Linked DNA regions of Homo sapiens: all the other regions are linked to region 3. Evidence: promoter capture Hi-C in 16 types of primary human blood cells and fetal thymus (Javierre and others, 2016). All regions are on one chromosome and are shown on one strand. The core of a region is centred on a gene start or on the middle of the fragment in contact, and the rest is flanking DNA. Distances in the headings are between cores, read along the strand shown. Region 1 holds the start of LOC124904788 (a long non-coding RNA gene). Region 2 holds the start of ZSCAN22 (zinc finger and SCAN domain containing 22). Region 3 holds the start of ZNF583 (zinc finger protein 583). Region 4 overlaps ZNF8-DT (ZNF8 divergent transcript). Region 5 overlaps LOC124904784 (a long non-coding RNA gene). Region 6 overlaps ZNF274 (zinc finger protein 274). Region 7 overlaps ERVK3-1 (endogenous retrovirus group K3 member 1).

Evidence for each region. Contacts are between HindIII fragments. The CHiCAGO score rates a contact against its expected background, and 5 or more counts as called.
Region 1: a contact is called between a fragment that was not itself captured here and the fragment with the promoter of ZNF583 in region 3, in 1 of 17 cell types (neutrophils). The highest score is 5.9, in neutrophils.
Region 2: the fragment with the promoter of ZSCAN22 here is called in contact with the fragment with the promoter of ZNF583 in region 3 in 1 of 17 cell types (neutrophils); the score reaches 7.2 in neutrophils.
Region 4: a fragment that was not itself captured here is called in contact with the fragment with the promoter of ZNF583 in region 3 in 1 of 17 cell types (neutrophils); the score reaches 6.4 in neutrophils.
Region 5: a fragment that was not itself captured here is called in contact with the fragment with the promoter of ZNF583 in region 3 in 2 of 17 cell types (total CD4 T cells and total CD8 T cells); the score reaches 5.4 in total CD4 T cells.
Region 6: a contact is called between a fragment that was not itself captured here and the fragment with the promoter of ZNF583 in region 3, in 2 of 17 cell types (non-activated CD4 T cells and neutrophils). The highest score is 7.2, in non-activated CD4 T cells.
Region 7: a contact is called between a fragment that was not itself captured here and the fragment with the promoter of ZNF583 in region 3, in 1 of 17 cell types (neutrophils). The highest score is 5.3, in neutrophils.

The regions. Positions count from the first base shown.
Region 1 is chr19:58,369,056-58,372,185 of GRCh38, forward strand. ZNF837 (zinc finger protein 837) reads right to left here. Exons shown (of 3, transcript NM_138466.2): 2 at 764-873; 3 at 1-306. The coding sequence starts at 277. LOC124904788 (a long non-coding RNA gene) reads left to right here and starts at 752. Exons shown (of 2, transcript XR_007067364.1): 1 at 752-839. The HindIII fragment of the contact is 6,674 bases long and covers 1-3,130 here.
Region 2 is chr19:58,325,216-58,328,645 of GRCh38, forward strand. ZSCAN22 (zinc finger and SCAN domain containing 22) reads left to right here and starts at 1,779. Exons shown (of 3, transcript NM_181846.3): 1 at 1,779-1,899. It overlaps LOC105372480 (a long non-coding RNA gene), which reads right to left and starts at 2,033. Exons shown (of 3, transcript NR_144444.1): 1 at 1,608-2,033; 2 at 1-146. RefSeq lists enhancers at 1,664-2,406, 1,750-2,079. The HindIII fragment of the contact is 13,061 bases long and covers 1-3,430 here.
Region 3 is chr19:56,403,055-56,406,534 of GRCh38, forward strand. It overlaps ZNF583 (zinc finger protein 583), which reads left to right and starts at 1,278. Exons shown (of 5, transcript NM_152478.3): 1 at 1,278-1,398. RefSeq lists an enhancer at 702-841 and a silencer at 1,302-1,511. The HindIII fragment of the contact is 8,045 bases long and covers 1-3,480 here.
Region 4 is chr19:58,270,286-58,273,455 of GRCh38, forward strand. The region is part of intron 1 of ZNF8-DT (ZNF8 divergent transcript); the gene reads right to left. It also overlaps a transcript of ZNF544 not described here. Among named protein-coding and RNA genes, the nearest start is that of ZNF8-DT, 6.9 kb to the right of the region's middle. The HindIII fragment of the contact is 2,554 bases long and covers 553-3,106 here.
Region 5 is chr19:58,165,943-58,169,572 of GRCh38, forward strand. All of the region lies in intron 1 of LOC124904784 (a long non-coding RNA gene), which reads left to right. Among named protein-coding and RNA genes, the nearest start is that of ZNF274, 15 kb to the right of the region's middle. The HindIII fragment of the contact is 1,212 bases long and covers 1,086-2,297 here.
Region 6 is chr19:58,200,182-58,203,388 of GRCh38, forward strand. All of the region lies in intron 4 of ZNF274 (zinc finger protein 274), which reads left to right. Among named protein-coding and RNA genes, the nearest start is that of ZNF274, 19 kb to the left of the region's middle. The HindIII fragment of the contact is 4,047 bases long and covers 1-3,207 here.
Region 7 is chr19:58,307,514-58,310,924 of GRCh38, forward strand. The region is part of intron 2 of ERVK3-1 (endogenous retrovirus group K3 member 1); the gene reads left to right. All of the region lies in intron 5 of ZNF8-ERVK3-1 (ZNF8-ERVK3-1 readthrough (NMD candidate)), which reads left to right. Among named protein-coding and RNA genes, the nearest start is that of ERVK3-1, 3.8 kb to the left of the region's middle. RefSeq lists a silencer at 3,190-3,411. The HindIII fragment of the contact is 5,065 bases long and covers 1-3,411 here.

The DNA of each region.
Region 1 (3,130 bases), core at 191-2,690, 2.0 Mb after region 3:
CGCACGGCTCCCGCACGAGGGGTCTGGTCCCGGCGCTGTGCCGGGTCCCCGGGCCGGGGCTCACCCCGAGGCTGCAGCCCCGGGAGCCCCCGCCTGGGGGAGTCGTCCTACCGCCCGCCGCTCCACGCAGGTCCCCCTTTTGAGTGGGGCGGCTCCCAGCTCGGTCCTCTTCGAGGGGCCTCGGCTCCTCGGGCCTCTTCTCCCGGGCCCCGGAGGCACCCTGGGCATCGGCCTTGGGGAGTCCTCCCTGCCCAGCCTTCTGGGCTGGAGCCTCCATCCTGGGGCGCAGAGTTCTGGTTGTAGGATCTGGAAGAGCAGAGAAGAAATGGAGGTTGGCGGTTCCCAGGAGGAGAGAAGTGGAGAACTGGGCCAACGAGCGACCACCCCACAGCTGGCACCTACTGGGCGGCCCCCAGCTCTCTGCAGATGCGAAAGGGTAAATGGAGTGACATAGGCAGCCCGTCCTGCCCCTCTTCAAATTGTCACCACCCAGACCCCAGAGAACAGCTTCCCAGGCTCTGCCTGCCCGCCATCACCGTTCCTCCCCAACACTAGCTCCTAAAACACTGTGCCCCTGGCTAAGGCCCTCCCTGGTCCCCCTTCCCCAAGCAACAGGGACTCCCCCGTTGCTCAGCTGCCAGCTCCCCAAAATCTCACTTACTCCTGCCCTCCGTTTCTCAGTGGCAAGCCGACACTCCGGGTCCTCCTGGCTCCATTCACTGCCATTGTCCATGTCTTCTGAGAGGTGTGAGGTGAGACTCACCTGACAGCTGAGAGCCTGGCCGGGAGATCCACGCTGCAGAGGCCAATGCTGGACTTCCCCTCCCCTCTTCAACCAGGTAACGGTGGTGCTCTCAAGGCTGGCAGCCTCATCTACAAAATGGGTATGATAACGGTAAGTATAACCAGCTGAGTAGGGAGACAGGCAGCCCAGATCATTCAAGCAAGTGTGAACATTAGCAACGCCTGGCGCCTGCTATTACTATTTTAAAATTACACTGTGGCTGTATTAGTTATCTATTGTTAAAGCTGCTTTAACAAACTGCCACCCCATAGTGGCTTGAGACAGTGCAAACTTGTTATCTCAGAGTTCTGGAGGTCGTAAGTCCTAAGTGAAGGTTTCAGTAGTGTGGGTTCCTTCCAGAAGCTCTTGGGGAGGACGTTTGCTGACCATTTCCAGCTTCTAGGTGCCACCTACTTTTCTTTCTTCCATCTTCAAGCCAGCAGTAAGACATGTTCATCTCTCTCTTTCTGGGTTTGTTGTCAAATCTCCTTATACTCCTTATAGGATTCTGACCCTTCTGCCTCTTGTGATCACACTAGGCCAACCACACATAATCCAGGAATCTCCCCATCTCAAGATCCAAAACTTCATCACACTCAGTTCTTTTGCCTTGTGAAGTAACATAGTCAGAGGTTCTAGGAAACAGGACGTGCAGATCTTTCAGGGGGCCATTATTCTGCTTACAACAGTGGACTTTGCTGAGATACACACACGTGCATATATAAATATTCATCTCCTAAGCAAGCAATTGAATAGCAAGTGAAAACAAAGGACGGCCGGGCACGGTAGCTCACGCCTGTAATCCCAGCACTTTGGGAGGCCGAGGCAGATGGATCACCTGAGGTCAGGAGTTTGAGACCAGCCTGACCAACATAGAGAAACCCCGTCTCTACTAAAAATACAAAATTAGCCAGGCATGGTGGTGCGTGCCTGTAATCCCAGCTACTCAGGAGGCTAAAGCAAGAGAATCACTTGAACCCGGGAGATGGAGGTTGCAGTTAGCCGAGATCGCACCATTGCACTCCAGCCTGGGCAACAAAAGTGAAACTCTTTCAAAAAAAGAAAAGGAAAAAAAGAAAAGAGAGAGAGAGGGAGGGAGGGGTGAAGGCCGGGGGGGGGGAGCCGGGCGCGGTGGCTCACGCCTGTAATCCCAGCACTTTGGGAGGCCTAGGTGGGCAGATCACGAGGTCAGGAGATCGATACCATCCTGGCTAACACGGTGAAACCCCGTCTCTACTAAAAATACAAAAAATTAGCTGGGCGTGGTGGCGGGCGCCTGTAGTCCCAGCTACTCGGGAGGCTGCGGCAGGAGACTGGTGTGAACCCGGGAGGCGGAGCTTGCAGTGAGCCGAGATCACGCCACTGCACTCCAGCCTGGGCGACAGAACGAGACTCTGTCTCAAAAAAAAAAAAAAAAAAATTGCCGGGCATGGTGATGCATGCCTGTAGTCCCAGCTACTCAGGAGGCTAAGGCAGGAGAATCACTTGAACCTGTGAGGTGGAGGATGCAGTAAGCTGGGATTGGGCCACTGCCCTCCAGCCTGGGCGACAGAGCGAGACTCCGTCTCAAAAATAAATAAATAAATAAATATTTTCCTCATTGTGATGTGATGTGAGGTTTCTCAGCCTCACACGTGATAAGTGCACAATCCTCCTGTCCCCTCCCTAGATCTCATTGTTTCCAGAACAAAGATGGATCTGTCCAGCACAGCCTTTAGACTCTGAATCCCGGATGGCTAACATCATATGCAGAGCGTGAGATGGACACACTTGTGGCACCCTCGTAAATCACTGCTTCACTCGGCACAGGAGCTCAGATTCTTCTCCTTTTGTCCTGTGTTCCCTATTCTGTGCAAGGCAGATATCCTCTTATTTTATTTTATTTATTTTGGTGTTTTTTGAGACAGAGGCTCTCTCTGTCACCCAGGCTGCAGTGCAGTGGCGCCATCTCAGCTCACTGCAACCTCCGCCTGCTGGGTTCAAGCAATTCTCCTGCCTCAGCCTCCTGAGTAGCTGGGATTACAGGTGCCTGCCACCATGTCTGGCTAATTTTTTGTATTTTTAGTAGAGATGGGGTTTCACCATGCTGGCCAGGCTGGTCTTGAACTCCTGACCTTGTGATCTGCCCACCTCGGCCTCCCAAAGCGCTGGGATTACAGGCGTGAGCCACCGTACCTGGCCAGATATCCCTTTATTTATTTGTTTGTTTGTTTGTTTATTTTTATTTATTTAGAGACAGGGTTTCACTCTTGTTGCCCAGGCTGGAATGAAGTGGCACAATCTCAGCTCACCGCAACCTCCGCCTCCTGGGTTCAAGCAATTCTCCTGCCTAAGCCTCCTGAGTAG
Region 2 (3,430 bases), core at 529-3,028, 1.9 Mb after region 3:
AACTTCTCAGAAAAATGACTTCTTTGTTTACCATCTGCCTCCCCACACAATAACATCACCTCCATAAAGGCAGGCCATGCTTATCATCATTGCAGTATCCAATCTGCAGTGGTGCTGGCTGCCTGTTGTGGGTGCTCAGTATTTATCTGTGGAAGGAAAAGAATATATGCTCATTCCAGCTGCTAGCAGTCTGCAGGGCAAAGTCTGAGAATAATAGGGGATGTGAGCACAGGCTGGGGCCAAGAAACACCACCAGCACCACCAAGCAATCATACACACCCTGCCTCAAAAAGGCCTCACCTGAACATAGGCTGGGCCACCAACCTCTATGTATCGGGCCCCAAGCCAGAGTCTCCTGCTCAATGTCTCTTACACATACACACACACACAGAGAAGATACATTCTCACACACAGTCCAGGCATCGACTGAATCACACAATCACACTACCATTCACAGTCACCGTAACAACATCACACACAGTCTAGGGCCTTTATACTGTGTCAGGTCCACCCCATTACCTCTAAGTATCTGTCTCAGACACAATTACACCTGGTGCAGGCAAACACAGCTGCATGATTATCACATATGATGATTAAATCACAGGTCACACACACGCAGAGTAAGCACACAGAACAACCCACAAACCTGGTCACAGAGTGACTCATGCAGACAGACGCCCAGCTCAAATTCAGTAAAAAATGATACACATTTATAAAAATGATTACATGTGTTCACAGAGAGCCACACATAGCTACACTCAATACACACCCTGACATAGGCAACCACACCGCTCACCTCTCACAAAGGCACCTTCAGTACTTACACAGACACTCACACCCACAAGCCCTCAGACAGGCACCCTCTCCCCTCACTCCTAACATGGGCACCCTCACCTCTCACCCAGGTACCCTTGTTACTGGTGGAGGGTGTCCAGGTTCTTGGCATCTTGAACAAATAATTGGACAAAATGCACAAAGAAAAGAATGAAGCAACAAAAGCAGAGATGTATTGAAAATGAAAGTACACTCCACTGTATGGGAGCAGGCCGGAGCATAGGGGCTCAAGAGCCCGGTTACAGAATTTTCTGGGGTTTAAATACCCTCTAGAGGTTTCCATTGGTTACTTGGTATATGCCCTATGTAAATGAAGAGGACGAAGTAAAGTTACAAAGTGATTTACTCCATGTACGCCCTGCATAAATGGAGAGGATATTTCCTACCATAGCTGCAGTTTCCATTTGATTTACTTCTAGGAAGTCCTTAGGTTCCCTGCCTCCAGACCCGATTTTCTTGCCTCACCCTTACCCCTCACCCCTCACACAAACACCCTCAGCCCTCCCAAAGCCACCCTCAGCCTCACACAGCCGCCCTCACCCTCAGCCTCACACAGGCACCCTCAGCTCTCACACAGGCACCCTCAGCCCTCACACAGCCGCCCTCACCCTCAGCCTCACACAGGCACCCTCAGCCTCACACAGGCACCCTCAGCTCTCACACAGGCACCCTCAGCCCTCAGCCCTCACACAGCCGCCCTCACCCTCACCCTCACACAGGCACCCTCAGCCTCACACAGGCACTCTCACCCTCAGCCTTCACATTTCCCTCACCTCCAAGTCCCGCCTTTCGCGCATCGCCTGCTGCTCTCCCACTCAGCGCCACCTCAGTCCCACAAAGGCCGGGCTGGGATCCTGTGGCCTCCGTGCTGACCAACGTCAACTACAATTCCCAGCAGGCACCGCGCCTGGGTACACTTGAGCTTCCGGAGGACGCCGGGAATTGTAGTCCTGGCGGGCGTGGGCCCTTGAGGTGTGCTGGGAGCTGTGGTCCGGGTCGGCGGGCGCGCAAGTTGGCTAGTCTCTGCGGCCACCTCCGGAAGGGTCCGCCGGCTGTGCTGGTGAGGTGGGTTTCGGGGGTGTTCTCCGTCCTGATCCAGGCTGGAGAGGGGCACAGCAGGTCCAGAAGCCGCGAACCTCTGGGGCGGCCAGAGCGAGATGCGGGGTACCGCCCAGCGGGTAGAGAGTGAGAGGCTGACTAGGGGACGTGAGTAGACGGACTGCGAGTGCCGGACACACGCGCAGAGGATGTGACGGACTGACGGACCAGGCGTGGACGGACCGTGTGTGCACGGACTGACGGACCCGGTGTGGACAGACTCACGGACCGAATGTGGTGCGGAATGACACACTGAGTGCCGGACGGACCGACGGAGAATGTGTCGGACTGACGGAGTGTGTGTCGGATGGACTGATTGACCGGGTGTGGGGCGGACGAAGTGTGGAGCGGGCGGACAGATAACAGATAAAATGTAGGACCAGTGGCCTGGGAGGGTGTGGGGCGGACCCGTTTATGTGTCTGATAGGCGGTTCTGTGTCTGACACCTCTTGGGTGTGTGTATCTGACGGGTTGGAGTGTGTGATTCTGATAGGTTGAGTGTAACACTAACCATGGAGTGTGTGACTGACAGAGATGGTTGCCGTTTGAGACTTCCTACGTGGGTTGTGAGATACTGTGAGAGGGTGAGCGTGTGACGGTGGGATTTCAAGTGTGACTGATTTTCTTTGTGTGTCCTTGAGATGGTGACTAAGATTATGAATGACTGTGATCAGAATAATACTGTGTGATGGAAATGCTGCGAGGGCCTGTGTTTATTTTTGAGACGGAGTCTTGCTCTGTTGCCCAGGCTGGAGTGCAGTGGCGCAATCTCGGCTCACTGCAACCTCCATCTCCCGGGTTCAAGCGATTATCCTGCGTCAGCCTCCCGAGTAGCTGGGATTACAGGCACCGGCCACCACACTTGGCTAATTTTTGTATTTTTGGTAGAGACGGGCTTTCACCATGTTGGTTAGGCTGGCCCGGAACTCCTGACCTCAGGTGATCCACCTGCCTAGGCCTCCCAAAGTGCTGGGATTATAGGCATGAGCCACCATGCCTGGCCAGGCCTGTGTTTATTTGACTGATTATAGGTGACATTGAGATATTTCCTGTGTCTGGGTATTTTGAAGGCTGTGGCTGACAGACTGTACCTGAGATAATATGTGTTAATATCTGATTGACTGAGATTTTTATCAGGGAGACTAAAACTTGGGTGATCCACAAACAGTTTACCAAGCATATGAGAGAGGATTTGTGCTTTGCCATGTCTGCAGCTGAAACTGAGTGACTAGTGGTCATTCAGCTGGGCTTATGGATATGTCCCCCAGTGTTTGCTTACGTGTAGCAGGGGGCTATGGTATCCATACATCTACTGCATGTTTACTGTGCACCAGGCCTGTGCTGGACACTTATAATAAATCACCTCACATAATCTCATAGCAACCCTCTGAGGTAGGTACCATTATCAGGCTTGGTATAATCCATGTGTGAGAAATGAAAAGAACCACCCTCCTTGGTTGGTAAAGCAGCTGTGGATGGGGAACCTCAACCTGATAGG
Region 3 (3,480 bases), core at 28-2,527:
ACTCCCAAAAGACAGGGTTTAGAGAGCTTCCACCCAGCTGAACATGTGGAGGTTACTGGAAGGTGCAACACCCTTTTTTCTGTACTTTGCCCTACGCATCTCTTCATCTATATCATTTGTAATATCCTTTATAATAAACTAGTAAACATAAGTGTTTCCTGAGTTCCGTGAGCCACTCTAGCAAAATATCGAACCGCAAAGAGGGGGTGGTGAAAATCCCAATTTGAAGGTGGTGGAGTCAGATGTTCCAGAGGCTAGACTTTAGTGGGAAGTGGGAAGGGGGAGGCAGGCTTGGGGACTGAGCCCTCAGCGAATGGTGTCTGACCCATCTCCAAGTAGACGGCGTCGGAATTAAACTGGAGGACACCCAGCTGGTGCCCGCTGCAGAACTCACTGAACTCATTGCTTGCTTGAGATGTGTGGGAAACTCCCCTATATTTGGTCAGAAAAGTCTTCTGTTATGATTAGTTGTCGTTGAGATAATAGAAAAAAATGCACCTTGCGTTTTTTCCACTGATTCAGAGGGCATAACTGAAAGAATGAAGAACTGAAAGAATGATCTTAATACTCTGCTTCGCTTTTCTTGATAATACGCATTACTTCCCAATATGCATCAGTGTCCTTTATTATTAATTTTTTCCTATTGAATTCCTCCCGCATTAGAATGCTGCTCCATGAGGTGGGGATTTTGTCTGCTTGTTCACTGCTGTGTGCCCAGGGCCCACGACAGTGCCCGATACAGCAGGCGCTCAATAAGTGGCGAATGAAAGACAGGGCAAGGCGGAGAGAGAAGAAACAGAAAGGGAAAGAGAAAGCCCGGGCCGCCAGAGCGCTTAATCACACGTACATCCTACCGGGCCCCTCTCCAGCTGGCTCAGGCTCCACACTGGTCCTCCAGCTCCCTTTTCTCAGCGATGGACTCACAGCCCCACCCGGAGCGCTGGAGCGCGGACGCGGTCACTGCGCGTGCGCCTCACCGCGCTGGCACCCCGGCCTGGCAGCCTTTGGGGACCTGAACCAGCTGCGCCTGCGCAGGTGGAACGGGTGGAACGGGTGGGGGAGCGGACAGTCGAACGGCCTGAGAGGGCTCAGCTGGTCCGGGTGGGATTCTGAAGGCCAGCGGAGGTGGGCTTACTAGGGAAAGGGGCGCAGCAGTAACTACCCGCAACTGAGCGGCGGGATCTGCGGCCGCCCGGGGCCCTCGGCCAACATCCCAGCATCCTCTGCGCCGCGCCGGCCCCGGACTCCATTTCCCAGCGGCCCCTGCGGCCTGCCCTAGGGCTGCGGCGCCTTTGTGAGCGCGGCCGCCGGCCAGGATCGAGCCCTGGCCCGGGCCCTGGCCCAGCCCCGGCCTCCAAGGACCGCGCCGAAGGAGGTGCCCACTGGAGGGAGGAGGCGGTGAGGAGCGCGGGATGGAGCTGACGCCGGGAGCGGCCATGCCACCATGTGTGGGACCGTGTGTGACAGTGTGTGAGAATGTGTGAGACATTAAGGAACCGTGTGTGACAATGTGTTTGACAGTGTGGAATCGTGTGTGAGACCATGTGTGACTGTGTGAGAATTTGAGACCGTGTGTGACAGTGTGAGAATGTGAGGCCGTGTGTGAATATGTGTGTCAGTGTGAGACCATGTGGGACAAATGTGGGACTATGTGTGACAGTATGAGACTGGGTGTGAGAATGTGTGCGACAGTATGAGACCGTTGCCCCGGTGTATGCGGGAGCCTTTGACAGTATATGGGACCGTGTGGGACTGTGTGACACTGTATGTGCTTAAGACCACGTCACCATGTGTGAGACTGGGAATGTGTGACAGTGTTAAACTGTCATTATGTGTAGACCACGTGTGAACAGTGTGTAAGACCATGTCACTGTGTGTGTGACCTGTGTGTGTGGGATAATGTAAGACTGTGTGACAGTGTGTGTGACTTTGTGAACAGAGCTTGACCGTGTGTGTAGGATTAGATGAGACTGTGACAGTATGTGAGACCATGTCACCGTGTGTGAGGCTATGTGTGGTTGTGTACGGTGTGTGGCTGTTGATATGGGACCACATGAAACTGCGACAGAATTTGTGTGACAGTGTGTGAGACTGTGTCACTGTATGTGAAACTGTATGTGAACAGAGTTTTTGTTGTTGGACTAAGATTGTATGTGACAGTGTTTGAGATTGTGCATGACAGTGTGTGTGATTATGTGAGACTGAGGGAGATGGTGTGACTTAGCACTGTATGTCATCCCGACAGTGAGTGTGACAGTGTGACTGAGAATGGCCTTATATGACCCATTGTGAGAGCAGGGCGGGCTACAATGTGGGGGCATGTCCATAGGTTGCCAGGGGAGGTGCCAGAATGAGAAACTATGTGGTTTGTTGTCTGTGATTTGTGTGGGCAGGAAGCTGTGTGGGTGCTTGGAGATGCTGGTGTGCTCTGGGGTTTGGGAGACTGCTGTTGTGGTGGAGAGACAGAAAGATTGAGATAAAGGGGAAAAGATGGAGAAAGGGAGGGACGAGAGCTGAAAAGGGAGAGACAGACAGGAGCCTCAGCCTTAAGCCTGAAAAGCTGACCACGCTGGCTGCTTGTCCTCTGGCACAGTAGTTTTTCCATCCCTCTCAGTCTCTGGGGGCACGTGAGGAATTTAAAAGGAAAAAGGAATGGGAGACCTACCATGTGCTGGTTATGAAAATAAATGACAGAAAGATGAAAATTAAGCACTGTGCTCAATGCTTTATGTAGATCATTTCAGAATCCTCCCAACAATTGATAGGGAATAGTTACCATTTCACTGATAGAGAAACAGGTTTGCAGTGGTTACCTAACTTGCCAGAGGTTGTATAGGTAGCATGTGGTGGTTTGGCTGTTTGAGACCAGGTGTTCTGATCCTTAAGCCTAGTAGTTCTTACCACTGAGTTATGCCACTTCATAGGTAATGGCTTTATTCTTCAAGGCAGTGAGGTCTGCTGGACAAGAATTCACCATAGGGGGTTTGGATGACTGTTCAAGCATAGCCTGCTCCTCCCTCCCTCTCTCCTTCTTTCTGTCTGAGGAGATTGCCCAGAAAAGTCAAGAGATTAGTTTTCAGTTGTGGGTTGTCATAAGCCAGGACCAGAAGTAGGCCGTCTTGACTCTTTGATCGAGTGTCCACCACACTACATGGACCCTCTGATACTCACTCTGTGTATAGAGATGCTTTCTCTGAGAAATTTCACTTTGTAGCTTTATCTGTCATCCTTGCAGAAAGGGTGGGAACATATTTCCTTTCAACATCATGATCGGGTGGAAAGAATTAAAAGTTAGAACTGGTTTCCAGTTTGGCTTAATTATTACCATGATGCCTTGAATAATTACTCCGATGAAGAGCCTTCATGTGTGAAAGAGGGGGAAATCCTTGCTTGGTAATACCATTCTGTAATTGCTGTTTTTGTTTTAAATTATAAATGGGGAGGTAACTTAAACACAGAACAGGTATGTTGTATTCTTTT
Region 4 (3,170 bases), core at 580-3,079, 1.9 Mb after region 3:
GTGAACCCTAGGTATTGGCTTTTTTTTTCTTTTTTTTTGAGAAGGAGTCTCTGTTGCCCAGTCTGGAGTGCAGTGGCGCGATCTTGGCTCACTGTAACCTCCGCCTCCCGGGTTCAAGCAATTCTCCTGCCTCAGCCTCCTGAGTAGCTGGGATTACAGGCACGTGCCACCACGCCCAGCTAATTTTTGTATTTTTAGTAGACACAGGGTTTCACCATGTTGGTCAGGATGGTCTCCAACTCCTCACCTTGTGATCCGCCCACCTTGGCATCCCAAAGTGCTGGGATTACAGGGATGAGCCATTGCACCCGGCCTGTATTGGCTTTTAATTTTTAGGAAGTAACACATGGCTGTGACCTGACAACTTCATAGTGGCCGTAGGGTAGGGCACTGTTGTCATTATTCCTGTCACTGACAATGTCAGCCCCACCTGCAGATGTGGGAGAGTAGATGGGGAAAGTAGTAGTGGAGAGTAGAGGTTTCCCTTACCATCCTTTTAGGAAGTAGGCTTTTAAACATGATATGTAAGTTTATTTAGAAGATGAAAATTAAAGCTTGAAATGTAATATGAGAGGAATTGGCAGCGGATGTGAGTCAGATCCTCACCTGTCAGAGCAGGAAGTTAGTGAAAACTAAAGATGATTGGCTGGATGCGGTGGCTTATGCCTGTAATCCCAGCACTTTGGGAGGCTGAGGTGGGTGGATCACCTGAGGTCAGGAGTTTGAGACCAGCCTGGCCAACATGGTGAAACTCTGTCTCTACTAAAAATACAAAGATTAGCCCAGCGTGGTGGTGGGCACCTGTAATCCCAGCTACTCAGGAGGCTGAGGCAGGAGAATCGTTTGAACCCAGGAAGTGGAGGTTGCAGTGAGCTGAGATTGCATCACTGTGCTCCAGCCTGGGCAACAGAGTCAGACTCCGTCTCCAGGAAAAAAAAAAAAAAAAAGACTAAAGATGATCAAAGATTAGAATTACGGAGGTGTCCTCAAGAAGAATTGGAACAGATATGGTTAAAAGTGGCTGGAGGTGGGTGCAGTGGATATGGTGGTGCACACCTGTAATCCCAGTGCTTTGGGAGGCTGAGGCAGGTGGATCACTTGAGCCTAAGAGTTGGAGACCAGCCTGGGCAACATGGCGAGACCTGGTCTCTACAAAAAATACAAAAATTAGCCGGGCATAGTAGCACATACCTGAAGTCCCAGCTACTCAGGAAGCTGAGTTGGGAGGATTCTTTGACCCCAGGAGGTTGAGGCTGCAGTTAGCTGTTATTATATCACTGCACTCCAGCCTATGTGACAGTGTGAGACCCTATCTCAAAAAAAAAGTGATGTCGGGAGGCTGAGAGGATGAGTGACTGGGGCAGGAGATGAGTACTTTCCCTTTTAAGCCCATAGCATTTAATTCCCTGGTGGTTCACTTCTTATTTGGATAACTAACAAATTATTTCAAATGTGTGCCTATAGGTGAGAGAAGCAATGGTACATGAGGAGGTAAGCATTTGATTTGTGGGATTATGAACAACTGTCCTACTCTCCTTTTGATTCGGTGTCTCTGTATTAGTGATCTGACAATTTAAAAAATCAAGCAAGAGCAGGCTGGGCGCAGTGGCTCATGCCTGTAATCCCAGCACTTTGGGAGGCCGAGGCGGGCGGATCACTTGAGGTCAGGAGTTGAAGACCAGCCTGGCCGACATGGTGAAACCCTGTCCCCACTAAAAATGCAAAAATTATCTGGGCGTGGTGGTGGGTGCCTGTAATGCCAGCTACTTGGGAGGCTGAGCAGGAGAATCGCTGGAACCCGGGAGTTGGAGATTGCAATGAGCCGAGATTGCCCCACTACACTCTAGCCTGGGCAACAGAGTGAGACTCCTTGACAGGAAAAAAAAAAAAAAAAAGCATAAAGAAAAGATGTCAGACTTGTCTGTTTGGCCAGTTTGAGTTTATTTCAGCAGGCAGGGCAGGAAGGTTCCTTGGCTTCCTAGAATCCCCTGGAGTTGGATGGGTGTGGTGGCTTACACCTGTAATCCTAACAGACCAAGGCCCAGGTGGAAGGATCAACTGAGGCCGTGAGTTTGAGATTAGACTGGGCAACATGGCAGGACTCTGTCTCTGCAAGAAATAAAAAACCAGGTGTGGTGGCACGCGCCTGTTGTTCCAGCTACTCAGGAGGCTGAGGTGTGAGATCACTTGAGCCTGAGAAGTTGAGGCTGCAGTGAGCTGAGATTGCACCACTGCATTCCAGCCTGGGCAACAGAGTGAGACCCTGTTTCTTTAAAAATAAAAATAAAAATAATCCCTTGGATTTAAAGGGAGTGGGTTAGTCCTTGAAGATTTGATTTTCCAGAATTCTTATCAAGAAGAAGTTGAGGCGGGAGAATCATGAGGTCAGGAGTTCAAGACCAGCCTGGCCAACATGGTGAAACCCCGTCTCTACTAAAAGACGTGGTGGTGCGTGCCTGTAAATCCAGCTACTCAGGAGGCTGAGGCAGGAGAATTGCTTGAACCGGGACCTGGGAGGCGGAGGTTGCAGTGAGCTGAGATCGTGCCACTGCACTCCAGCCTGGGCTACAGAGCGAGTCTCCTTCTCAAAAAAAAAAAGAAAAGAAAAGAAAAAAAGGCCGGGCGCGGTGGCTCATGCCTGTAATCCCAGCACTTTGGGAGGCCGAGTTGGGCAGATTGCAAGTTCAGGAAATCGAGACCATCCTGGCTAACATGGTGAAACCCATCTCTACTAAAATTACAAAAATTAGCCGGGTGTGGTGGCGCATGCCTGTAATCCCAGCTACTTGGGAGGCTGAGGCAGGAGAATCGCTTGAACCCAGGAGGCGGAGGTTGCAGTAAGCCAAGATCGCACCATTGTACTCCAGCCTGGGCAACAAGAGCGAAACTCTGTCTCAAAAAAAAAAAGAAGAAAGAAACCAAAAAAGTAGAAAATCATATTATCATATACTTTAATAGCACAACAAAATTACAAATTAATAATTGTGGGTATTTTAGAATATATATGAAACAGCTATTTGGTCAAAGAGGAAATAAAAATACTACATCTGTTTAAGTAAAAATAAGTACTCTGTATCAAATGATCAACATGAATACAAAATACCAAAGCTTGCCTAAAGCCTAGGCCGGGAACGATGGCTCACGCCTGTAATCCCAGCACTTTGGGAGGC
Region 5 (3,630 bases), core at 442-2,941, 1.8 Mb after region 3:
GTTGGCCTCTCAAAATGTTGGGACTACAGGCGTGAGCCACCGTGCCTGGCCCACTAAACAATATTCTTATCAATGAATACCACTACATACATGACTCATTGTAAAACAACATTCAGATTTAATAAACCATAAATGCACAGGGAAAAACCCCTGAAAATTATGATTTTGGGAATGCTTTTGGTCAAAACACTCAACTTCTTAGACTTGCAAACAGTTCAGTGTAGAAAAGCCTTATATATGAAATATACGTAGTAAATTTTTTAAGTGTAGCACAAGTCTCAGTCAATGTAAGCGAATTCATGTTAGAGAGAGTTGAGTTGAATGTAAGGAATGTGGAAAAGTGTATTCAGAGCTCCTCTCATCTTTGTTTTGAGAGCACTCACACAGTTGACAAACCCTCCAGATGTTCTGAATGTGAGAAATCCCTGTTTATGGTAAATACTTTCTGACATCAGAGAAGTCATACTGGAGAGAGACCATATAAATGTAGTATGTGTAAAGAAGTCTTTAAACAGAGCTCAACCCCACTGATGTATGAGCAAACTCTCTCAGGAAATAGACCTTACAAATGTGTTGAGTGTTGGAGAGTCTTTATTAAGAAATATTTCTTTCAGTATGTTTCAGAACTTATACAGGAGAACAATACTATAAATGTAATCGCTGTAGCAAAGGCTGTAGACACAAATTATACCTTATTCAATATGAGACAATTTATACTTGTGGGAAATTATATATTTGCAGTGAATTTAGGAAATTCTTCTAAAGAAGTGAACACTTTTACCCTATAGCTAAGAATCTATAGAGACACCTTATGAAGGGAATCATTCAGGGAAAGGTTTTACACTTTGCTCCTCCACTACTCAAAAATCACAGAAGACACACTGGAGAGCAAAGTGATGGATACAGTCATCGTGGGAAAGGCTTCAGACGTAGCCTAGCCCTTATGATGTGACATCAGAGGACTCATACTGAGGAAAACCCCATACATGTAATTTGCGTGGAAGAGCATTCAGGAGTTGTTCTCATATTATTGAACGTAAGAGGACTCATACTGGAGAACACTATGAATGCAGTCAGTATTGGCAAGCTTTCAACCATGGCTTTTACCTTATTTGACACCAGGAAATTCAAACAAATTAGAAAAACTCATTGAAAAAAGATCAATGTGGAAAAGCTATTGGTTGGAATTCCATTTTATTTGACATCAGGGATAAAGGAGGCAAAAGCCACCAGTTATTTTTTAACTCTTAAGTATCTGAATGTAACAAGACTGCAAACTTGTGACTCCCTGCAGCCACAGATCAGCAGGGATAAGCAGTTCTATTCTACATATGTCCCTAATTTGCCATAGAAACACCATTTAATGGGGACTCAGGGTCTAGGCCTGATGAACAATGTCTCATAGAAATGTCTGGCCATATGCGGCTGGGCACAGTGGCTCACGCCTGTAATCCCAGCACTTTGGGAGTCCGAGGCGGGTGGATCACGAGGTCAGGAGATCAAGACCATCCTGGCTAGCACCGTGAAACCCCGTCTCTACTAAAAATACAAAAAAAAAAAATTAGCTGGGTGTGGTGGTGGGCGCCTGGAGTCCCAGCTACTCAGGAGGCTGAGGCAGGAGAATGGTGTGAACCCAGGAGGCAGAGCTTGCTGTAAGCCGAGATCGTGCCACTGCACTCCAGCCTGGGTGACAGAGCAAGACTCCGTCTCAAAAAAAACAAGAAAAAAAGAAAAAGAAAAAGAAATGTCTCCCATATGCCTGTAATCCCAGCTACACAGGAGGCTGAGGCAGGAGAATAGCTGAACCCAGGAGGTGGAGGTTGCAGTGAACCAAGATCACACCACTGCCCTCCAGCCCGGGCAACAGAGCAAAACTCCATCTCAAAAAAAAAAAAAAAAATGGTTGCCATAGATAATCATGGCTGGGCACAGAGGCTCACACCTGTAATCCCAGCACTTTTGGAGGGCAAGGCAGGTGGATCACTTGAGCTCAGGAGTCCAAGACCAGCCTGTGCAACATGGAGAAACCCCGTCTCTAATAAAAATACAAAAATTAGCTGTGCGTGGTGGTGCATTCCTGTAGTCCCAGCTACTTGGGAAGTGAGGACTGCTTGAGGGGGTCAAGGCTACAGTGAGCTGAGATGGTACCACTGCACTCCAGCCTGGGTGACTAAACGAGACCCTGTCTAAAAGAAAAGAAAAGAAGAGAAATGGTTGTCATAGGTAATCACATGTAAATTTTTTTTTTTTTAAAGAGTGAGCAACAGTAAGATTTATTGCAAAGAGCGAAAGAACAAAGCTTCCACAGTGTGGAAGGGGACCCAAGCGGGTTGCCCATAAATGTTATCAGTGGCAACAGCGTATCTGTTTTTCTACATCACGTATGAATAAAAGAACCGTCAACCTTGAAGAATGGTGCAGGAATCATATGGCAACAGCGTATCTATTTTTCTACATCACGTATGAATAAAAGAACCGTCAACCTTGAAGAATGGTGCAGGAATCATACACCTTTTAGCATCATGGGGATCCTTATGTGTATAATTTTATGATAGTCCTAGATGAGGGCTGAAGGATATGCTATCAATTTTTTTCTGCATAATCCAAATATTATCACTCCAAACAAATCAGAGAGCTTTATACTAACTTGCTAATACTTTGCCAATAGCATTCTTCTATCTACTTGAATAGAAGCATCATAAAGAGTTGTATGTTGGCCAGGCACGGTGACTCACACCTGTAATCCCAGCATTTTGGGAGGCCGAGGCAGGAGGATCACCTGAGGTCAGGAGTTTGAGACAAGCCTGGCCAACATGGTGAAACCCTGTCTCTAGTAAAAATAGAAAAATTAGCTGAGTGTGGTGGCACATGCCTGTAATCCCAGCTACTTGGGAGGCTAAGGCAGGAGAATCAGTTGATCCCGGGAGGTAGAGGTTGCAGTGAGCCAAGGTTGTGCCATTGCACTCCAGCCTGGGTGACAAGAGCAAAACTCCATCTCAAAAAAATAAAAAAAATGAGTTGTACGTATCTTCACATTTCTAAGGGCATGTCCAATGTCTTGGCAGGGTTAAAAAGACATCATAGTCTGGTGAAGTACCCATACTCCAAAACTAGTGCAAACTTCACAAGTTTCATTGCAAATCCCTTACAAAGAGCACAGGGTATGTATAAGCAGCATTGGTTTCTCTTCTGAAACCCTGGACACTAGAAGATAAGTGAAGATTCCAGAAACACAAAGACTCTGATTTCAGGATTTGATGCTCAGCAAATATATCATTCACACATATGAGGAGAGAGTAAGCATTTTCAGACCTGTTAGCATTCAAAATTTGTATTCTTTCTGGAAAAACTGCCCAAGAGAACATAATAGTAATTTCTTACAATGGAAGTATGAGCCATGTCCCCAAAAGACATCTAAAAGGACACTCATAGAAGCATTAGTCATAAGGGGCCAAAACTGGATACAGCCCAGCAGTCCATCAATAATAAAATGTATAAACAAAATGTGGTACATCCATAGTGGAATACTACTCAGCAATTTACCAAACATTAACTACTGATACATGCAGCAACTTGGATGAATCTCTAACACATTATGTTGACACAGAAAACCATAGACTATATGATTCC
Region 6 (3,207 bases), core at 319-2,818, 1.8 Mb after region 3:
TTACACCTGCTTTCATTGGGCCTACATCCATTCCATGGCTGATTGGATCAACAAAAATGAAGTTGCCCATTCAGTACCTCAATTGCACTGGGCACCTTTCAACTGCTCATTGGCCCTGCAGCTAATGCTACTATGTTGGACAGTACAGATCTAGAACATCTCATTTATAGAAAGTTCCATTGGACAGCACTGCTCTAGATAGGGTGATAGACATGATAAATTAATGAATCAGATATTTGGGATGGTAATGAGTGTTGGAAAGAGAAGGAAACAATGGGATACATTGGTGGGGGACAAGCGAGGTACGGGTGGGCAGCAGTAGTTCAGAACTAAGTAGGAAGATGGTTCTGAGGAGGTGACGTTTGAGCTCAGACCTGAATGGGAAAGGCGAACCAGGTGAAGATGTTGGGGAAGGTGAACCAGGCGAAGATGTTGGGGAAGACTATACCAGGCAGGAGGGTGGTGCACATGTGGATCTCTGGATGAAAGGCCATATTCTAGGAAAACTAAGATGGTGGCTGTGGGAGACCCCTTTAGCGTCAAGGACATGAAATAACAGGGTTTGGAACCCGGCTCCTTTGTTGCCCACTATGTTAGGCCGTTCTTAAATTGCTGTAAATACCTGAGACTGGGTTATTTATGAAGATAAGAGATTTAATTGGCTCACAGTTCTGCAGGCTGTACAAGGGTGGCACTGGCATCTGGTTGGCTTCTGGGGAGGCCTCAGGGAGCTTTTTACTCATGGTGGAAGGCAGGGAGCAGGCACATCATGGGAAAAGCAGCAGCCAGAGAGAGGAAGAAGGTGCCGCATACTGTTGTTTGTTTGTTTTGTTTTTTTTTTTGGAGACACGGTCTCACTCTCACCTAGGCGGTAGTACAGTGGTGCGATCATGACCCACTGCAGCCTCGACTTCCTGAGTTCAAGCGATTCTCCCACCTCAGCTTCCTGAGTAGCCAGGACTACAGGCACATGCCGCTACGCCTGGCTAATTTTTTTTTTTTTTTTTTTTTGTGGAGATGGGGTTTTGCCATGTTGCCCAGGCCGGTCTAGAACTCCTGGGCTCAAGCGAACCACCTACCTCAGCCTCCCAAGGTGCTGGGATTACAGGCGTGAGCCATTCTGCCCGGCCACACTTTTTTAAACAACCAGATCTCGTGTGATTAACTTAACCACCAGGAGGATGGTGCTAAGCCATTCTTGAAGGTTCACCAGGCCCCACCTCCAACACAGCATCACTTTTCAACCTGAGATTTGGTAGGGACACAGAACCAAACCGGATCATCCACTCTGCAACCCTGGGCAGGGTTCCTAGCCTATCCCAGCATGAATTTCTTTTTTTTTTTTTTCTTTCTGAGATGGAGTCTTGCACTGTCGCCCAGGCTGGAGTGCAGTGGTGTGATCTTAGCTCACTGTAACCTCCACCTCCTGGGTTCAAGTGATTCTCCTGCCTCAGCCTCCCAGGTAGCTGGGACTACAGGTGCCCGCCACCTCGCCTAGCTAACTTTTGTGTTTTTAGTAGAGACGGGGTTTCACCATATTGGCCAGGCTGGTCTCAAACTCCTGACCTTGTGATCTGCCCACCTCGGCCTCCCAAAGTGCTGGGATTACAGGCATGAGTCACCGCACCAGGCATATTTCTTTTGTGTATGGTGTACATTTGCTTCCTGGGACTGTGGGCAGCCTTCGTGAAATGATGGTACTGTCATTGATTCAAAAACTGAGTAACGTAAAGATGATCAGCAGCCTTTGGCAGATCCTCTACTTAGGGGTGTGAGATCCACAAGTCCCAGTTGGCAGCCTCAGTGGTACACTGGAGGAGACAGATGCAGAAGGTAATCCAACAGGGAGCTTAGGGGCACTGAGGGAATGATGAGAGAGAACAGGAGAGCTGAGAGCTTTCCAGACAAGGAGGAAAAGTGATGGGGTACTGTGCCCAGGGATTAGGGGAGCTGAGGGTAAGTACTCTTCTGACTTTTCCCCCACAAGCTGCTAAAAAGATCATTGCTTTTCGTTATATTTTGGACTGGTATACCTGGCTAATCAGCATTCACTGGCAAACAGCACTGTGAGGAAGACAGCTGCCTAAGGCCTGTTTGTCACCCTGGAAGGGAAGCAGCAGAGAGGTAGAAGTATCCTGAGAGAAGAAAATAGTGTCAAGAGGGAGAAAGCAGCAGCTCCCATCAAGCCCTTACCACATGCTGTGCCTGGACTTTGGTATCTCATCACTTTGGGTGAAGAAACTCAGGCTCAAGAAGTTAATCTCTCTTGATTAAACCCCTTGCTTTGAGCCTCAGTGAATTTGTTTCACAACCCATTAGACAGACAGTTGTAGGTGAGGTGACTACATTGCTACGGGCTCATTCAGTTGCTGGACTGAAAGCCATTTGGAGCTCCAGCTGATAGGGATTATGCAGCTCCACATGAGTGGGTTGGGTCAGTCATGTCTGTGGAATGAGATGGGTGGAATGAGAATCCAGTTCCACCTCTGCCTGGTGGTGAACTTAAGAGCTTCCATTTTCTCCTCCATGAAGTGGAGCAGCTAATTTCCTGCAATAGACAGTGGTAAGGATTGCCCTAAAGGTCTTGGGATAGTCTATGGGTTGACATTTGGAGGACTGAGGTGCACAGAATGAGTCCATCACTTCCTCACCAGTTTCTGGGTTTGTGGTCTCTCTGTTCACTGTGGTGTCCTTGGTTCCACAGCATGCAAAAGGTGCTTTATGATAACTGTGTACAGAACAGAGTGTGGGGCCTCATGGGTTAATAATAAAGATTAAAGCAGAAGTAAGTACATTAGAAAGGGGTGGGGTGGAGTAGAAGAATCCAACAGTTGTTTTCCTAGGGGCCAAGGCATGAAAATCCCTCGATTAAGGAATACAAAAATGAAATTTTAGAAATTTATGAAGTAACGTTTAAGATGTTTAAGTGTCATGCATGGTTACCTAAAATAGTACTGGTGGCCCAGTGCTGGTCTGCCACTTAGCCCCCCCCCAGGAAGTACAGATTCAGTTGGTGCATGTCCCATGTCCTAGGCACTTAGTCCGGTGCTGCTGGGCCTCCAGTAAATCTTATCCCCAGCTGCTTCTCAGGAAAAATTCAAGCCTTAAGAGCTGTAATTGGGCTGGGCACGGTGGCTCACACCTGTAATCCCAGCACTTTGGGAGGCCGAGATGGACGGATCACCTGAGGTGAGGAGTTCGAGACCA
Region 7 (3,411 bases), core at 134-2,633, 1.9 Mb after region 3:
AGTGGGAAAATGTTATAATTGTGGAAAAATTGGACATTTCAAAAAAGAATACCATCAGACCTCTGGGCAGAAGGGATCTTACAATGCAATACCGCCCCCCCCTCCCCGCCCCGCTCCCCCCAACACACACACACAGAAAAAAAAACACCAGGACTTTGCCCTCGCCGTAATAAAGGAAATCATTGGGCTAATCAGTGTTGCTCAAAATTTCATCAGAATGGCACCCCGCTCTCAGGAAATGAGAATGGGGCCTGGGCCCCTCAAACAATGAGGGCATTCCCCATCCAGGCCACAACCCTGCTACAGGGGTGGGTTCCTGGAGGAACATTGACTCCCTCTCCTCTGGAACACCGGGGAGTGCAGGATTAGATCGCTCAGTCAGAGAATGGGTCACGTTAGTTGGAGGAGACAAACCCACCAGAATTCCCACAGGCATTTGGGAACCTTTGCCAACAGGATATACAGGATTAATTTTAGGCCAAAGCCATCTGAACTTACAGGGCATTACTGTGATCCCTGGATTGTTGACTCTGATTATGAAGGAGAAATTCAAGTAATTGTAATGTCACAAGATCTTTGGGTTTTTAAACCTGGGAAATATATTGCTCAGCTATTGCTTATTATTATTCTCTGCAAATTACACCCTTCTTCACGAAAGGAGAAAAGAGGAAATCAAGAATTTGGGAGTACAACTACACAGGAAATTTACCTATCCCAACCCATAGCTTCTAATTGACCCACCTGTGCAGTGCAAATTAAAGGAAAGAAGTGTTGTGGGTGTATGGACACAGGAGCAGATGTTTCAGTAATATCCAAAAACAATTGGCCCCTGCTACTAACCTCTGCATCCTTAGTGGGAGTAGGAACAGCTCAAAGTGTTTAACAGAGTGCTGAAATTTTACTTTGTGTCAGTCCAGATGGACAGCCATGTACTTTTCAACCTTATGTTGCAAATATACGTGTTAATCTCTGGGGCTGAGATTTACTTACAGCATGGGATGTGAGACTTACAAATGAAAAGGTTGATAATCCAGGATTTAAAATATTGAAGGAAATGGGATATCAGAGTGGGAAAGGCTTGGGAAAGTTCCTACAGGGAAACCCCGGTCCGGTATCGGTAACTGGGCAAACAGATAGGAAAGGGCTAGGTCATCAGGATTTCTGATAGGGGTCATTGATACTTCTTCTCCACCCACTGCCTTGCTGCTAGAGTGGCTGACTGATAAACCTGTGTGGGTGGATCAATGGCCCCTATCACAGGAGAAAACTGACTCAACTCCATCAGCTGGTAAGAAAGCAATTGGATGCAGGACATATAAAAGTATCAGTTAGTGCTTGGAATTCACCAGTATTTGTGACCCCCAAAACGTCAGGAAAATGGCAACTGCTGCATAATTTGAGAGCTGTTAATGCACAAATTAAACCAGTGGGTGCATTACAGCAAGGTCTGCCATCCCCGGCAACCATTCCAAGAGATTAGCCTCTTGTAGTAATAGATCTTAAAGACTGTTTTTTCACTATACCATTACACAAGAAGGACAAGCCTCAATTCGCCTTCTCTGTGCCTTCTATTAATCAGAGAGAGCCTGTCTCTTGTGATCAATGAAAAGTTTTATTACCCCAGGCATGCTCAACAGTCCTACGTTATGTCAGCATTTTGTAGGAAAAGCATTGAAGGAGCCTCGGAATATGTTTTCCACCACCTACATCATTCATTATATGGATAATATTGTTTTGGCCACTCCTACAGATCAAGTATTATACCAGTTATTCAGAGAAATAAAATGGGCTTTAACTAAATGGAATCTCAAAATAGCTCCTGAAAAGGTACAAACAACCTCCTCATACCAATACTTAGATACTACTGTTACTGAAAAAAGTATTCAGCCTCAGAAAGTAGCTCTTCGTAAGAACAAATTACAAACTCTGAATAACTTAGGGGATATTAATTGGCTGCGCCCAATGCTAGGTATTGCTTCTTATCAACTCACTCATGTTTATCAAACCCTCCAAGGAGATTCTTCATTAGATTCCCCTCGGCAACTTACTAAGGAGGCAGAAGCTGAATTACAGCTTGTAGAAAGATGCTTCAGCAACGACATGCCTCCTGGCTACAACCACAAAAGTCTTTGGTTTTGTTTATTCTTCCTACCCCCCATTCTCCATCAGGACTTTTAGCTCAATTCATAGACAAAACTATAATGGTAATAGAATGGCTTTTTTTATCCAGTCAAACAGTAAAATCTTTGCAAGTTTATCTTGCTTTAGTCACACAACTTATAACAATAGGCAGGCATAGATCAAAAATGCTTACAGGATATGATCCTGATAAAATTATTGTTACCTTGGATTCCCAACAACAGGCTGCGGCCTGGGAGATGTCCACTGCATGGCAAATCACTTTCGCAGATTTTGTAGAAATAATAGATAACCATTATCCATCAGACAAAATTTTGCAGTTTTATAAAATTCACCCTTTTATTCCCCCTGTGATTGCTCATCACAAACCCATTTCAGGTGGACAGACCTATTTTACCGATGGCTCTTCCAAAAGCCACACAGCCATTTATGGACCTAAATATACTTAAATAATAAAGACCCCTAGAGTTTCAGCTCAACACTCTGAATTAATGGCAGTTATTCAAGTTTTAAAGCTCACAGCTTTATTTCCTATTAATATTGTCTGTAATTCAGCCTATGTCGTAAATGTAGCTAGTTGCATTAAAACTGCCACTATCAAGAGTGTACGGACCAGCCCCACAGGGTCGGTGGGTCTCTCCCTGTGTGCGGCGACGAGAGAGTGTAGAAATAAAGACACAAGACAAAGAGATAAAAGGCAGCTGGGCCTGGGGGACCACTACCACCAATGCGCGGAGACCGGTAGTGGCCCCGAATGTCTGGCTGCGCTCTTATTTATTGGATACAAAGCAAAAGGGGCAGGGTAAAGAGTGTGAGTCATCTCCAATGATAGGTAAGGTCACGTGGGTCATGTGTCCACTGGTCAGGGGGCCCTTCCCTGCCTGGCAGCCGAGGCAGAGAGGGAGAGGAGACAGAGAGAAAGACAGCTTACGCCATTATTTCTGCATATCAGGGACTATTAGTACTTTCACTAATTTACTACTGCTATCTAGAAGGCAGAGCCAGGTGTACAGGATGGAACATGAAGGCGGACTAGGAGCGTGACCACTGAAGCACAGAATCACAGGGAGACGGTTAGGCCTCCGGATAACTGTGGGCGAGCCTGACTAATGTCAGGCCCTCCACAAGAGGTGGAGGAGCAGAGTCTTCTCTAACCTCCCCCAGGGAAAGGGAGACCGCCCCCCACCCTTTCCCGGTCTGCTAAGTAGCGGGTGTTGTTCCTTGACACTTTTCGCTACCGCTAGACCACGGTCTTCCCAAACGCTGGCGTCA